Linked DNA regions of Homo sapiens: region 1 is linked to region 2. Evidence: promoter capture Hi-C in 16 types of primary human blood cells and fetal thymus (Javierre and others, 2016). All regions are on one chromosome and are shown on one strand. Each heading gives the region's core, a stretch centred on a gene start or on the middle of the fragment in contact. The rest is flanking DNA. Distances are from core to core; before and after follow the strand shown.

Evidence for each region. The method cuts DNA at HindIII sites, captures the fragments that hold promoters and counts their contacts. A CHiCAGO score of 5 or more calls a contact.
Region 1: a fragment that was not itself captured here is called in contact with the fragment with the promoter of LYN in region 2 in 1 of 17 cell types (M0 macrophages); the score reaches 7.8 in M0 macrophages.

The regions. Positions count from the first base shown.
Region 1 is chr8:51,939,373-51,946,274 of GRCh38, reverse strand. PCMTD1-DT (PCMTD1 divergent transcript) reads right to left here. Exons shown (of 4, transcript NR_189279.1): 3 at 4,138-4,277. Among named protein-coding and RNA genes, the nearest start is that of PCMTD1-DT, 44 kb to the right of the region's middle. The HindIII fragment of the contact is 1,781 bases long and covers 1,970-3,750 here.
Region 2 is chr8:55,878,105-55,885,835 of GRCh38, reverse strand. It overlaps LYN (LYN proto-oncogene, Src family tyrosine kinase), which reads right to left and starts at 6,001. Exons shown (of 13, transcript NM_002350.4): 1 at 5,733-6,001. RefSeq lists silencers at 1-266, 5,218-5,397, 5,428-5,717, 5,798-5,967, 5,988-6,047 and enhancers at 93-372, 3,909-4,018, 6,198-6,257, 6,818-6,907. The HindIII fragment of the contact is 13,046 bases long and covers 4,376-7,731 here.

The sequences.
Region 1 (6,902 bases), core at 1,611-4,110, 3.9 Mb after region 2:
TGGACTCATACGAAGTATTTGTCAGGAATTCACATTGGTTTACAGAAATGACATTAAATAGTGATTGGCTATACCTTGTTAAGCTACTGGGTATGGGTTATAGTGTCCAGTGAGGCATTATTAGGTTAATTGATAGCTACTTGTGGCAAGAGCGAGCAGGTTTTTATTTATTTATTTATTTATTTATTTTTATTTTTCGTAGAGACAGGGTTCTCACTTTGTTGCCCAGGCTGGTCTTGAACTCCTGGTCTCAAGTGATCCTCCTGTCCTGGCCTCCCAAAGTGTTGGGATTACAGGCACGAGCCACTGTGTCCACCCGCAAGCAATTTGAAGACATGAATATGTAGCTCAGTGGGGAAGTAGGACATGATTCCTGTCTCATTATGTCTCTCTGGGCCTGATTGTTTAAAAGGACTCATAGTCCTCAGATAAAAGTTCTTATCTTATCTTTTCTCACCTAGTATCATAGGGAGAGGGGGAATGAGAAGAAGTTTTAAATCTCTGGGCCTGATGGTTTAAAAGGACACATAGTCCTCAGATTTACACTCTGGGCCTGATTGTTTAAAAGGACTCATAGTCTTCAGACAAAAATTCTTATCTTTTTTTTTTTTTTTTTTTTTTGAGATGGAGTCTCACTCTGTTGCCCATGCTGGAGTGCAGTGGCACAATCTCGGCTCACTGCAAACTCCGCCTCCCAGGTTCAAGCGATTCTCCTGCCTCAGCCTCCCGAGTAGCTGGGACTACATGTGCCCGCCACCATGCCCGGCTAATTTTGTGTATTTTTCAGTGGAGACGGGGTTTCACCGTGTTAGCCAGGATGGTCTCCATCTCCTGACCTCATGATCTACCCACCTCAGCCTCCCAAAGTGCTGGGATTACAGGCGTGAGCCACTGCACCCGGCCACAAGTTCTTATCTTTTCTCACTTGGTATTATAGGAAGAAAGGGAATGAGGAGGGTTTCAAAAGCATGTCTATTTAAAAGCATGTCCTTTTAAAACCCCTTCTCATTCCCTCTCTCCCTGTGATACCAGGTGAGATTTAAAGGGACATGCTTGGCCAGGTGCAGTGGCTCATACCTGTAATCCTAGCACTTTGGGAGCCTGAGGTGGGTGGATCACTTGAGGTCAGGAGTTCGGGACCAGCCTGACCAACATGGCAAAACCTGTCTCTACTAAAGATACAAAAATTAGCTGGGCGTGGTGGTGCACGTCTGTAGTCCCAGCTACTTGGGAGGCTGAGGCAGGAGAATCACTTGAACCTGAGAGGCGGAGGTTGCAGTGAGCCAAGATTGCACCACTGCACTCCAGCCTGGGCGACAAAGCGAGATTCTCTCTCAAAAAAAAAAAAAAGACATGCTAATCAGAACCTCAGAACTGTGATCTTATAGTATGCATCACAATTGAGGGAGGGAGCTCTGAAACCCAGACCTGCTTTCAGTGGCATTTCCCCCACTTTAATCTCCAGGATTAGACACTGTCATAGGCTTTGGGCTGTCAATTTCCTTTTCTACTCAAGAGTTCCCTCAGATAACCTGCCTTCTGTCTTATCTTGTCAGGCCTTCACCCTCTCCAAGTTAGAAAGGGGTCTTTACAAGTTAGTAAATAGACTTTACATGTTAAGAGAAGGAAGATTTTTGTTTATAGCGGAGCCTTGACCAAAATCTCCTTTGAAGTAAGATTGAGATACAATGTTTTACCCCATGATGCTGATGCTACATCAAGTCAGCATTTTATTTATCCACTAACTTAACAACCATTGGTTGAGCTCCAAGAATTGCATGCACCACTCTAGATCCTGAATCTACACCAATAAATGAGAGTTCAGCTGCCTCCTTTTGTGCAGTTTATTTTCTTGTGTGGGGACAACAGTCAACTGACAAGTAAGCAAATAAAAAAATAATAATATTATTGAGCTAAAAGGAAGAACCTGAGGCAAAACTAATATAAGAGAGTTTATCTGGGCCAAGCTTGAGGGTTGTGTAATTACCAGATGAATTCTTCCTGCTTGCTGCATAGACAAAACCAATTCACTGAGACCATGCTATTGCAGGAAAGAAAGAGTAATTGACATGAGACTGCCACATGGGAGACAGAGCTATTACTCAAATCAGACACTCCAAGGACTCAGAGGCTAGGGTTTTTATGGACAATTTGGTGGGCAGGGACCTAGGGAATGGGTGGTGCTGATTGGTTGGGGAGGAAATCATAGAGATGTGGAAAATGGTCCTCTGGGTGGGCCCCAGGACCTGATGGGTCATGAGTCATCGTCCGGATACAGTCAGTTTGAAAAACATTTCAAAAAATCAATCTTAGCTTCCACAATCATGATGTTATTTATAAGAGCAATTGGGGAAGTCATGAATCCTGTGCCTTCTGCCACATGACTCTGGAGCAGTAAGAGATTATAGAAACGACACCTACATCTTAGCAGAGTTCAGGCCCCTCTCATAATCTTATTCTTGTGGACTTTCATTAGTTTTACAAATGCAGTTTAGTTTTGTGAAGAGCTATTATCATCTTTGTTTTAAGGTTGAACTAGAAACAAAATCCCTCCCAAAGTTAGCTTGGCCTCTACCTAGGAATTAACCGGGACAGCTAGGTGGTCAGAAGCAAGATGGAGTCAGCCCTGTTAGATTTCTGTCACTGTAGTAATCGTAATCTTTGCAAAGGTGGTTTCAGTTGCAATTCCATAGGTTGGAGTTGCCCTCAACATACATCCAGTTAGCAACAGTTACAAATAGGTTTTTAAAGTAAAAGAAAGAGGCAGTTCCTCAGTTGTTTAGCAAAAAATTACATTAAAATAACATAAGCTATTGATGGACTACATACTGTTCTTTGTATCACAAACTCCTGCAACATGAAGATACTGGGTGAGGCGGCTAGTCAGGAACTAAATGGCTTTAAACCACGGTGGGAGCAGGGTGGAATGACTGCAGGCCCTGCTCCTGTCTCTCTGCACCTGCATACTTCACATAGTGCAGACTGCGCTAAGCTATTTTTCTTTTCTCAACATCAACAATAAGTGCTATGAAGAGTGTCTTAAAGAGGGATATGACATGGATGTTACTCCGCATTGGGTGACTGGGGAAGCACTCTGTGAGGTGAGATTTGCGCAGATCCTGAATGACAGGAGGAAGCCCCAGGTGCAGAGGTCTGCCGGCAGAAACATGCCCGGAGTTTTCAAGGAGCAGAAACAATCAGCCCGTGTGGCTGGGAGGTCATGAGACCTGGTGGGCAGATCTAAGCAGTCCTGTGTGCTGCCTTGTTTTACCTAGGACCTCAAAGATTCGCAGTGAGTGGAGAGGGGACCAGGGACAATACAATTTCAGGAGCAGTAGGGGCCATGAAAGCAGAGAAGGAAGTGCCCAGGCAAGGCGTCCTACGAGGTGAGGCGCTGGTTGTTGGGGCTCAGAAGTTAATACCCCAACAATATGGCACATTGACATGCTGAACTGAAGAAGCCTCAAGGTCTTTCTCCCCGGCCCACCTCCTACCATTTCTCCCAAAGCACAGAAGGAAGTTAACATTTCTTTATCTGCCTAATAGCCAAACCCATTAAGGAGAACAGTTGTTTTAAATTCCCCTCCCTATAAGACCAAGAATGTAACCATGCCTGAACAGACCCACTCACAAGACAACATATAAATTAATCTCTATTCTCTGATCTATTTATTCTTCCTAGTAATCCCCTTAACAGAATTCCTCTTCTCTCCCTCCCACACCCTGTTTTGCCAGGATGGCAGACAAGCTTCTGAACCCCATTAGGAGGTGGGTGAGTACTCTGTGGTTCTCCTTGTGTGCATGTTAATAGATCTATATGCCTTTTCTCCAACATATCTGCCTTTTGCGAGTTCATTTTTTAGTGAATCTTCAGAGGGTGAAGGAGAAGTTTTTTCCTGTGGCCCATATATGGCCAAGCATCATGCCCTGTCAGGCATGCACAGCGCATCTGAGCGACTCGCAGCAATGGCTCAGGATGCCACACTCTGAGGAGATCCTCCGAGTATCCTACCCTGCAACGCTTCAACCCACCACTTCCCTCTGCCTTGGGGAACTTAGAGGTCAACTTATCACCATTTGTAGGCCCTAACCTGAGTTCTGCAATCGTAGAATGGCTTTTGTTGCTGGTTGACTTACATGATTCCTTCTCTTAGTCATTTTCATTTCTAGACAACATTCTCTTCATTATATGGATGGCCTTGCCTTTCCTCTCTCCTCTTCTTCCAGTTTTCTTCACTGAGTGTTATTTATTCCCAATAGACAATGTTGGAGTTTGTCTGAGGGTTATAGAAAGGGAAAAAGTGTCCCTTAAGAACATTCCTAAGGAAAAATATGTCTTCTGATTTCTTGAGCTTAGAATATGTTAAAAGTAGAAGAAAGGATCCTAACTGACGTGAACTTACATCATCAGGGTCAGTTTAGTTTAAAAAATATTGATTTAATTTCTAATTTGTACTAGCACTACATGTACAATGAGTTCGTAACTATAAATGAGGTGAGATTGAAAAAATATATATAGCCAGGCATGGTGGTGCACTCCTGTACTCCTGTATTCCTACCTACTTGAGAGGCTGAGGTGGGAGGATCCCTTGAACCCAGGAGTTCAAGCCTGCAATAAGATACGATAGCAGCATTGCACTCTAGCCTGGATGACAGAGTGAGACTCTGTCTCTAAAAGAAAAAAAAAAAATATATATATATATATACACACACACACATATGTGAGTGTATTTATACACACATATATACACATTAAATATATACAAATATATATATAAAGACGAATGAGTTTGGGGAAACATAATGAGTTTGGTTTTTTTCCAAGAGACAGCTGGATATATGAATCTGGAGCTTAGGGAAGACGTCAAGGGTGGAAATATAGATGTCGATATCCTCTTTAATTTCAGGTAATTATCTTAGGATCAATCTTCCTCTACAAATTAGAAAGGACATATACTCAGAAGCTAGTAGTTATAAGATTTCCACAGATTTCATTCTACTTCTGGCATGCTGCTGCACGCAAGCAACTAGGAACAGCACCAGGTATAAAATGCTTTATTGATCTGAGTGAGTCCAACTCATGACCACTCTTTCTCCACAGTATTTATCACGGTGGTTTTACTGACATCAGTGACTTGTTTTTTTCTAATATTGGCTCCTCCTCCTGTTTCTGTTATCTGTTTTGATTTGGTTTTGCCATCAACGTCTTTGGCTGGAGTCATCTGCAGGATATCTCTTACTATAGGAAGTGGTCAGACAGGTGGGACTGTGGCATTGCATCTCACAATGTGGAGTCTGCATGGAAATGCACAGGTGATGCCCTCTGGGCCTAACCAAAAGCAGAACTTGGTCATTTGTCTCCACCATCATATCCTGAACCTACAACTTGAGACAAGCAGCACAAAATCACAAAGGTCCTGTAAGCACCCAATGGGTTCCTCTTGCCTGCTGCCCAGATGCAGTCAGTTTATCAAGATGAGAATTGCAATAGAGAGTTTAATGCACAGAGAGTTGGATAGGTGAAAGACTGGACTTTACTCAAATCAGTCTGTTTTTTAAGTTATAAAGAACTAGGGTTTTTAAAGGATAATTTGGCAGGCAGGAGACTGAGAAACGAGGAATGCTGATTGATCGGGTTGGGAACGAAATCACAGGGATTCGAAACCATCTTCTTACACTGAGTCAGTTTGTGGGTGGGGGCCACACAACCAGTTGAGCCACTTTACTAGTCTGGGTGGTGCCAGTTGAGCTATCAGAATGCAGGGTTGGAAAAAATACCTCAAACACCAATCTGAGATTTTACAGTAGTGATGTTATCCATAGGAGCAATTGGGGAGGTTGGGAATCTTGGGGTCTTTGGCTCAAGGAGGGTTTGTTTTGTTGTTGTTGTTGTTGTTTTGTTTGTCCTGGAAAGGGCTATTAGTATCTTTGTTTCAAAGTAAAACTATAAGGTGAGTGTGGTGGCTCAGCATTTAGAGAGGCAGAGGAGGATGAATCATTTGAGGTCAGGAGTTTGAGACCAGCCTGGCCAACATAGTGAAACCCCATCTCTACAAAAAATACAAAAATTAGCCGAGCGTGGTGGTACACACCTGTAATCCCAGCTACTTTGGAGGCTGAGGTGGGAGAATCGCTTCAACCCGGGAGCCGGAGGCTGCAGAGAGGCAATATCACACCACTGCACTCCTGCCTGGGCGATAGAGTGAGACTCTCTCAGAAAAAAAAAAATAAAAAGTTAAACTATAAACTAAATTCCTTCCAAAGTTAGTTTGGCCTGTGCCCAGGAATGAATATGGGTAGGCTGGAGGTTAGAGGCAAGCAGATTCTTTACTGTGATAATGTTCTGATGTCAATTTTTTCTCACTGTCATAATTTTGCAAAGGCTGTTTCAGTCCTGCTGATACTAGGAAATATCTTGCCTTTAAGTTCTTTCAAAGAGATGTGACATTTTAAATCTGGTGATTGAAATGGAAAAGTGGAAAACAGAGGAATAAAATTTTAAACTACTCATATAATATACAAAAGTATTGTAATCCCATGGAAATATCTGAAAGTTTTACATTTGACTGATGTATACCATAATAATTGCACGTTAAATAAATAAACAAGCAAGCAAATAAACTTGAACACACAACCCAGATAAAAGCTGCAATGTTTCACATTCCCGCTCAAGGAGAAAATGAAAATGAAAGGTTAGGCTGTTATTTTAGTTGTTTTGGCAGCTCTCAGTGGCCAGAGTAGCCATATGGCATCAGGAGTCACGCAGAATATGGTTTTTCTCACCATTAAAGCATCTACCAGAAGAAAAGATTGAAGATCAAGGGTTGCTCACAGACAGGTGCTAACAGCTACAGGGACCTGTGAATGTGCTCGGACCTCTCATGTATGCAACACTTTGACCA
Region 2 (7,731 bases), core at 4,752-7,251:
GGGTGGAGGAAGTATCACTTCCTTGCCTGCCTCCTCTGGGGCCTTTTCTCTCCAGCATCGGGCTACAGTTCTGCTCTCCGTGACACAGCTTCCCCCTGGAAAGCAGAAGTGGTCCTCCCTCTCCAGAGAGCCTCTCTGAGATAAGCTTCTCCATTCCCCTCACCTCCGTGGGGGTTAACATTTACAGGAAGAGTGGGGGCACCCAGAGACCCAAACACCAAGAAGACGTCATTGCTTCAGTGGGAGGCAGAATGAATACACACCCATCTCTCCAGTCTCACTGTACCAGCGCCCAAGGGTAGGCCCAAAGACCACACGAAGACCTCCCCACCAGATGTTTTACCAATGGAGGGAGGAAAGCGGGGACTGGAAAGAAGCTTCCAACCAGTATGGTCTGGTGTCAATAAAGAGGAGTGAGCAAGATTTCAGATGCTCACAGAAAGGTGTGGGCAGGCAGGCAATATGTAACTTTGCCTGAAGCATGGACTGTAGAAAGGAAATGAGACCAACTAAAAAACTATCTGAGCTGTGAAGACTTCTTCCCAGTGTTCTACAACCCAAAAGCAGAGCCTCAACCATCAAGAAACAGCCACTTAACTGGATTATTTAAATGTATCCCGATTCATGCAGTTCTATAGGATGTCATTTAAGTAGCAGCATTCTGAACACTGAGCATTTACAATAATGAGGTTAACTGACAATCTCTTCCCATACACGGTCAGCTCATGCCAATTCCTGGTTGAAGAAGCCTTTGTAAGATGATAGGGAATGAAGTGGGGAGAGCAGAAGAAGGGGTACTGGAAGCCTGAGGGTTAATAAAGCTCAGTGAAAGAGCAATGCCATGGAAGAGTTCTATACCAAGGAAAACTGTATCCTGAGTGTAAGTACAGCTTTTAAGAAATAGCTCTGTGGCAAATAAGGAATGCTGCCAGCTAATTCAGTAATGAGAGAAAATGAAGTACAGAACAGGATGAAGGGGATAAACAACAAAGGCTACTACAGGCCCTGCTCTTGTCAGCATGGATGAGGCTTTTTAATACATCATCCCAAGTATTTAAACTTGCTCTTCTAAATTACAAGACAGGGCCAGGCACGGTGGCTCACACCTGTAATCCCAGCATTTTGGGAGGCCGAGGCGGGCTCACCTAAGGTCAGGAGTTCAAGACCACCCTGGCCAACATGGTGAAACCCATCTCTACTAAAAATACAAAAATTAGCCAGGCATGGTGGCGGGCGCCTGTAATCACAGCTACTAGGGAGGCTGAGGCAGGAGAATCACTTGAATCCAGGAGATGGAGGTGCAGTGAACTGGGATCACGCCAAAGCACTCCAGCCTGGGTGACAAGAGCGAACTCTGTCTCTTCAGTGGGAGGCAGAATAAAAAATAAAGAGAGCCCTTCCAACTAACTTAAGCCAAATATACCCCAGAAAGGCCAGGCGCAGTGGCTCACACCTGTAATCCCAGCATTTTGTGAGGACGAGACGGGCAGATCACTTGGGGTCAGGAGTTCAAGACCAGCCTGGCCAACATGATGAAACCCCATTTCTACAGGAAATACAAAAATTAGCTGGGTGTGGTGGCACATGCTTGTAAGTAATCCCAACTACTCAGAAGGCTGAGGCAGGGAGGATTGCTTGAACCCAGGAGGCGGAGATTGCCGTGAGCTGAGATTGCACCACTGCACTCCAGGCTGGGCGACAGAGTGAGCCTTCATCTCAGAAAAGAAGAACAAACAAAACAACAACAACAAAAATCTCAAAAGGTCCAAGTCTTTAAACTGACAAAATTTCTAATCCCTCCATTGGCAGATTTCCATACCATTCTCTACACATGGGTATCTCCCCCGAAAGGGAACTTATTCAAAATAAATTTTAGAAATGATAATGGAGTGAACTTAAAGTTTCACAATTTAAGTATCAGGAAACCAGACAGCTGTAAGAAATCTTTCAGTATTTCTGACTGGAAAAAAAAAACCCAACAACTTCCTCTTCCATGTTCTTCTCTTCATTATCAGCCTTAAAAGATGGGAGGCAATGTATATCTATACTGTTGGCCTAGAACAGTGCCTTGCACACAGCAGGTGCTCAAAATGATCAGGTGTTTTAATGTGCGTCCTATGAGCCCTGTCTCCTTAATTTATATTTTCACTTAAATGATGCTCTCACTGATAAAACAACCAGGAGGTTGGCAAAGTTTACAGGGAGACACTCCCAGCACAGGTCGGGGAAAGTCCTTTTGCAAAGTATTACTCAGGTACTTCTGTATTAACCATTAAGCAACTGATTGCCCCCAAGACAGTCACTAGGGCTGCTCGGACAGCAGCCAGTATAGGTGTCATCTTAGCAGTTACTGGAGACCACCCTTTCCCACCCCCAAGCAAAAAGCAGTGCTAAAAAGCACAGAAATTCATTTCTAGAAGACAGCTTGAAGTGCCCAGCTTGATGGTGCATCTGCTATGTCCTGAGCAGTTAGCCACTTAGTTCAGACAATTACCAAGTGATAAAAGAAAATTAACTCATGATTTCACTTTTAAAATGTTTGTTAAATGACCTATTTATTTGCTTTTAAGCACAGATGGTCTGCAACTTAATGATTTTTCAACTTTACGATGGTGCAAAAGCATTAGGCATTCAATAAAAACTGTACTTCAAGTACCCATACAACCATTTCATTTTTCACTTTTAATACAGTATTCAATAAATTACATGAGCTATTCAACACTTTATTATCAAATGGGCTTTGTGTCAGATGATTTTGTCCAACAGTAGGCTAATGTGAGTGTTTCGACCATGTTTAAGGTAGGTTAGGCTAATCTATAATGTTTAGTAGGTTAAGTGTATTAAATGCATCTTCTACTTTCAGTATTTTCAACTTACGATTGGGTTTATTGGGACACAGCCTCATCATAAGTTGAGAGGCATTTGTAATTGAGCACACACTACAAGTCCAAAGGTGGACAAGTAGAAAGAGCCAAAAAACATACCTACTACTCCTAATGGTACCGCTTAACCAAGCCTGTGACCTTAGACAACCCCCTGAATCTTTTTCTGTATCTGTCCCTCTCCATCCTATAGGAGCCACAAGAGGTTCAAATGAAATTAGAGTTCAGGAAGACTTCAGAGCCCTGAACAAATGAAAGGTGCTAACACCTTCACCATCATCACTAGGAAGAGCCAGTAAAGGTCTGAGGCTATCTCTGCTATCAATGTGACATTGATCAATGTCCTGACTAATGATTGTGGTGGCCTTTCAATGTTAACACTCATCCATGCATCACTGAGATCATCAGTAGGAGTGAGCTTATAACAATGTTCCCTGCTGTGGGCATGTATACATGGTGTCCTTATTTATAAAGTTAGTATGGGTTTGTACATGAATAATATGATTTAATTTTGTTAAGTTACAACTCCACATAGTCATGTGAACCAACTGGAATCTCAGATGTTTTTGGTGATTTATCTAAAAACAAATATTGCAGATAGAAGTAAAAGGCTTTCAAAGTCATTGAACAGTGCTGGACCACTTTTCTGCTAAAAGAAAGCTATTGGAGGGCAGGGGCGGGATTACAAAGTTTCGACCTACCTTTGTAACACCAATGACTCTAAAATAATGTAGGTCTTCTGGATTGGGCCAACTACCTTTGCAGGAAACATCTTAACCACCCCACATCAGGACCTCTCTTCCAGTAATAAGTAGAGAAGAGCGGTGCTGAGTGGAGACTCTCATTTAGTTACCCACACTAAATGTGGGTAACTCAGTGCTGGGTAACTTTACAGTCAACAAAGCCTCTCAAATCCCCGTTTTAGAAACCACAACAGAAAGGGCCAGTAGGCTTCAAACACCTTAGGGACCAGCTCTATTTCTTCATCTCCCTATGTCCTCAGTTTTGCATAGGGCAAGCTCACAGGAGGCCTTCATTCCTTCTTCCAAGTAATCTCGAACTGAGCACCTACTATGTACCAGGCACTGGGGCTATCATTTTGGACAAGACAGATGAAGCAGTTTTCATGGAGCTTCCACTGTAATGGTTAATACAGACTATCAACCTGCAGACAAATCAATATAACTCTGGCTGCTGCTATAAAGGAAATCTTGGCTGAATAAATGGCCCAAGTGGCTTATCCCAAATCACAGCATATTAAATGATGGAAGAGGCCAAAACTCAAGGTTCCTGGCTCCTACTTTCTCTCCCCTTACATCTGCTGCCCTCTATCCTTCACTCAGCAAAAGGGCCACACATTTACATCCAAAGAGGCCCAGTCACCAAAGACTCTATGATCCAGTGAAATTTATTCAGGCCTCAAAGCGCTTACCTGCTTACCTCCAAATGAGAATGGAGGGACTAACTGGATCCCACCCTTTCCCAACAAAGCTTACTCTTACAGAGAAGGGCTTAGTAAGGCCTGGGTTCTTGCAGTGCCTATTCCCCAGGGCATGGCTTTAGGTGTTGGCTGTACAGAGAAAACATCCCTGTAGCCCACCAGTTTATTGGCTAGTTCTTTAGGGAAAGTCAGACTACTGGGCCCTGCTTTGGGACAGCAAATCCCTCATGTATTTATTAAGCAGATTTACTAATAAGGTCAGATGGCTAAATCTGACATGGTAGTCTTAGCTTCAACATCACCAAGCTGCAAAGAACCAAGAAGCCTCATTTATATGAATAGAATTCACTGCAATAAATAACAGTAACATCGTTTATGAAATGCTTGGTACGTACTAGGGGCTTTGTGTGTACTAAACAGCCCCTGAGGTATATATGCTCTCTCAAAGATGAAGAAACTCAAACAGGGAATTTCAATAATCGGTCCCCTAAATATACAGCCAGAAAAGTGCAAGGCCTAGATTCTGAGCTGGCGAAGAAGGGCGAATTTGGGATAATTAACACACTCGGATATACAAAAACACAACCGCTAATCCACATGACAGGCAGGCTGTTGGAAAGTTACGAATGCACCGCAAGCAAAAGATGCCACCATGGGCCCAGAGAATGCAGGAAAGTGGGAACTGACTCTTACGCCCTTCCCCCAAGGCGAAGGAAAGGCAACCCCTGAATTCTTAAAATAACTCTCGCTTCCTCTCAGCCGGCAAAAGCACCGGACTGCTCCTCGGCAGGCCGAGAGGCGCCGCAGCGGGAGGGTGAGTTCCAGCCTCCGCTGCAGCCCCTCGACGTCACGCTCCTGCCCGGGGCCACCAGGGAGGGCAACTGTCCGCGGGCCTCGAGAGGGCGCCGGCCGAGCCCCATCTCCCACTGCCAGGAGACCCAGGGTCCAGAGGGGAGATCAGATTGCACAATCCGAGGAGTCCTCTCCAGTATCCCCGCCGCGCGCCCGCTCCGCAAGGGCAGCGGCTTCCCCACTGTGTGCGAGAAGCGGCCGGAGCAGGGACAGCAGCCGGCCCTCGGGCCCTCACCGGGAAGGACACGCGGTGAGCCCGCCCCCGCGCCCGCACCTCCCACCGCTCCCCTGCGCGGCTCCGCGGCGGACACCTGCGGAGCCTCAGTCCCCGCGCCCTGGCTCCCCCGGGCCCGGTCACCCGTCGGCTGAAGACATCTAAGAGCCTTCGCCGCCGGAGCCCAGAGGCGGTGCGGCCAGGAAGCCGCCGCGGGCCGCGCCGATGCCCCCGGCCCCGAGTCTACCCTGCGCCCGGGACTCCGGCTGGTGGCACAGCCGCGGCCCCTGCACCCACTGCCCGCGTGCCCGCGCCCACCCCTGGGCTCGCGCAGAGGACTCACCCGCTCGCGGTGAAAGTTTCGGGGCGGCGGAGCTCCACGGTGACTTGAGTTCAGAGTGGGGGGCGCGACGGGGCGGCCCAGCAGGACCTGCGTATGGGGAGGCTGCTGGCCGGGAACGCTGGACGCGCGGCGAGGGGCTGCTGGCGCGGGGCCGGGGGTGGCGCGGCCGCCCCGCTTGCCGCGGGCTGGAGGCTGCAGCGCGTCTGGCCCGGAGGCGCCACGGCCGGGGAGCGAGCGGCAGCGCGGCCCGGCGCGGCGGGAGAGGAACTGGCTGTCTCTGGGCTCGGCCGAGAGGTCCCAGCTACTTCCTGGTGCTCGGATTTGCATATTGAGCCCGGAGGGCGGGGAAGTGACCGTTTGGTCCCTGCCCAAGGTTTGGGTGTTTGGTGTGGCCGTCGCGCAGGGCTTTGAAGGCACAGAAACCTGGCGACTCAGTCTGCAGCTCCGGGGAGTGGAGCAGCCCGGGCCAGCCTTCTCCTGTAGGGACGGACGGAAGGATCTCCAGAGGAGCCTGGGCTTCGCAGGCACATCGACTACACCTCTCGCGTCTCCTTTCCTTTCCTTCCGACCCATCCCCAAGGTATTATTAGGAAGGGGGTGCTCCCAGGAGCGGAGGAGGTGCGCTCTGATCCCTTCCAACATTAGGGGTTCTCTAGAGAAAGGATGCGATATGCCGAGGTGATGCTCGGGGTCTCGCTGAGTTCTTAATAATCATTACAAAGTAAGTTCCTTAAGGGTGTACAGGAGGCTGTTCAGGGCATTGATGGGGGAGGGGATGACGTAGAGTCAAATGGCCCGGCAAGTTCTCCGTTTCTCAAAGCCTCAGTTTCCTCCCAGGACAATGGATGTGAGGATGCCTATCTCGTGTACCTTTCTGTACAGGGCCCGCACTGCCCGCATGCAGGAATGCTGGCGTTATTTCATTCCTACTACAGCTGCGTCCCAGCATGTAGGGCAGTGCTTGCACGTAGCAGCTGGTGCCTAACCAGTGTTTGCTGAAAGAATGTGTGACCGCGTGCTCAAGCTCATGTTCAACTCAATAAATGCCACTTACAAATCCAAGATGTAAGATTAGGCTCGGGCACCGTGGATACCCACTTCTTCTAAGCCAGATTCTGTTCACTGGGATCTCAGCATTGCATTAATAGCAAACATTTACAGAGGGCCTGATGGGCCAGACACTGCCCAAAGCACTTCCTTTCTCTCATTAACAATGTTCTGAAGAGGCTGACCCCAGCTACAGAGCAATAAGTCAAAGCAGCTGCCTTGTGACACAATCTGATACAGCAGTTATTTGTTACTAGGAAAAGAGTACTAAAGTTTGCATACTAATTCCTTAAAAGAAGAAAGGTGGTTTATACCTGTGATGTTCACTGGTATGTAGTTGTTAGTTTACTGCTGAAGAGAAGGGGTGGGTTGCCCATGGAAATACCCATGGGAAGGTGTGTGATTGAAACCTATCAAGAATCCTATGGAGAAAAATAGAAAAATGAAAAAAGAACAAAACAAAACAAAATGAAACAAAAAACAATGAATCCTACAGAATAATTCACTACCTGAGGGCCTATTGCCTAGACTTTTCTTAAGAATGACCTCTCAAATATATTAACCCTACATTAAAGTTTCTGCTGCTACTGATGAATCCTTGAGATCCTGACTAAACGTGTGTGGCAAATAAGAATAGGATTCAAAAACGTTTGGTATTGGTTAATCTATCAGGAATGTCTGTCAGTGTTTTTGGTAAAATGTCTCTCAGGGTAAGGAACAAAGCATCATCAGGCTTACCTGAGCTTGCAACCAGATCCCCAACTCCCTAACTCCTCACAAAATTGTCCTCACTAAGTTCATCTCTTCATTCTTATTTGGAAAAAAACGATACGATGCTAATTTCCACTTCTTAGGCTGCATTTATACTTGCTGAATACTTCATTCAATCATTCTCCATATCTGTCTTTCCTTCTTAATGTCCCATGAAAGTTCTATTTCTCAGGAAAGTTTT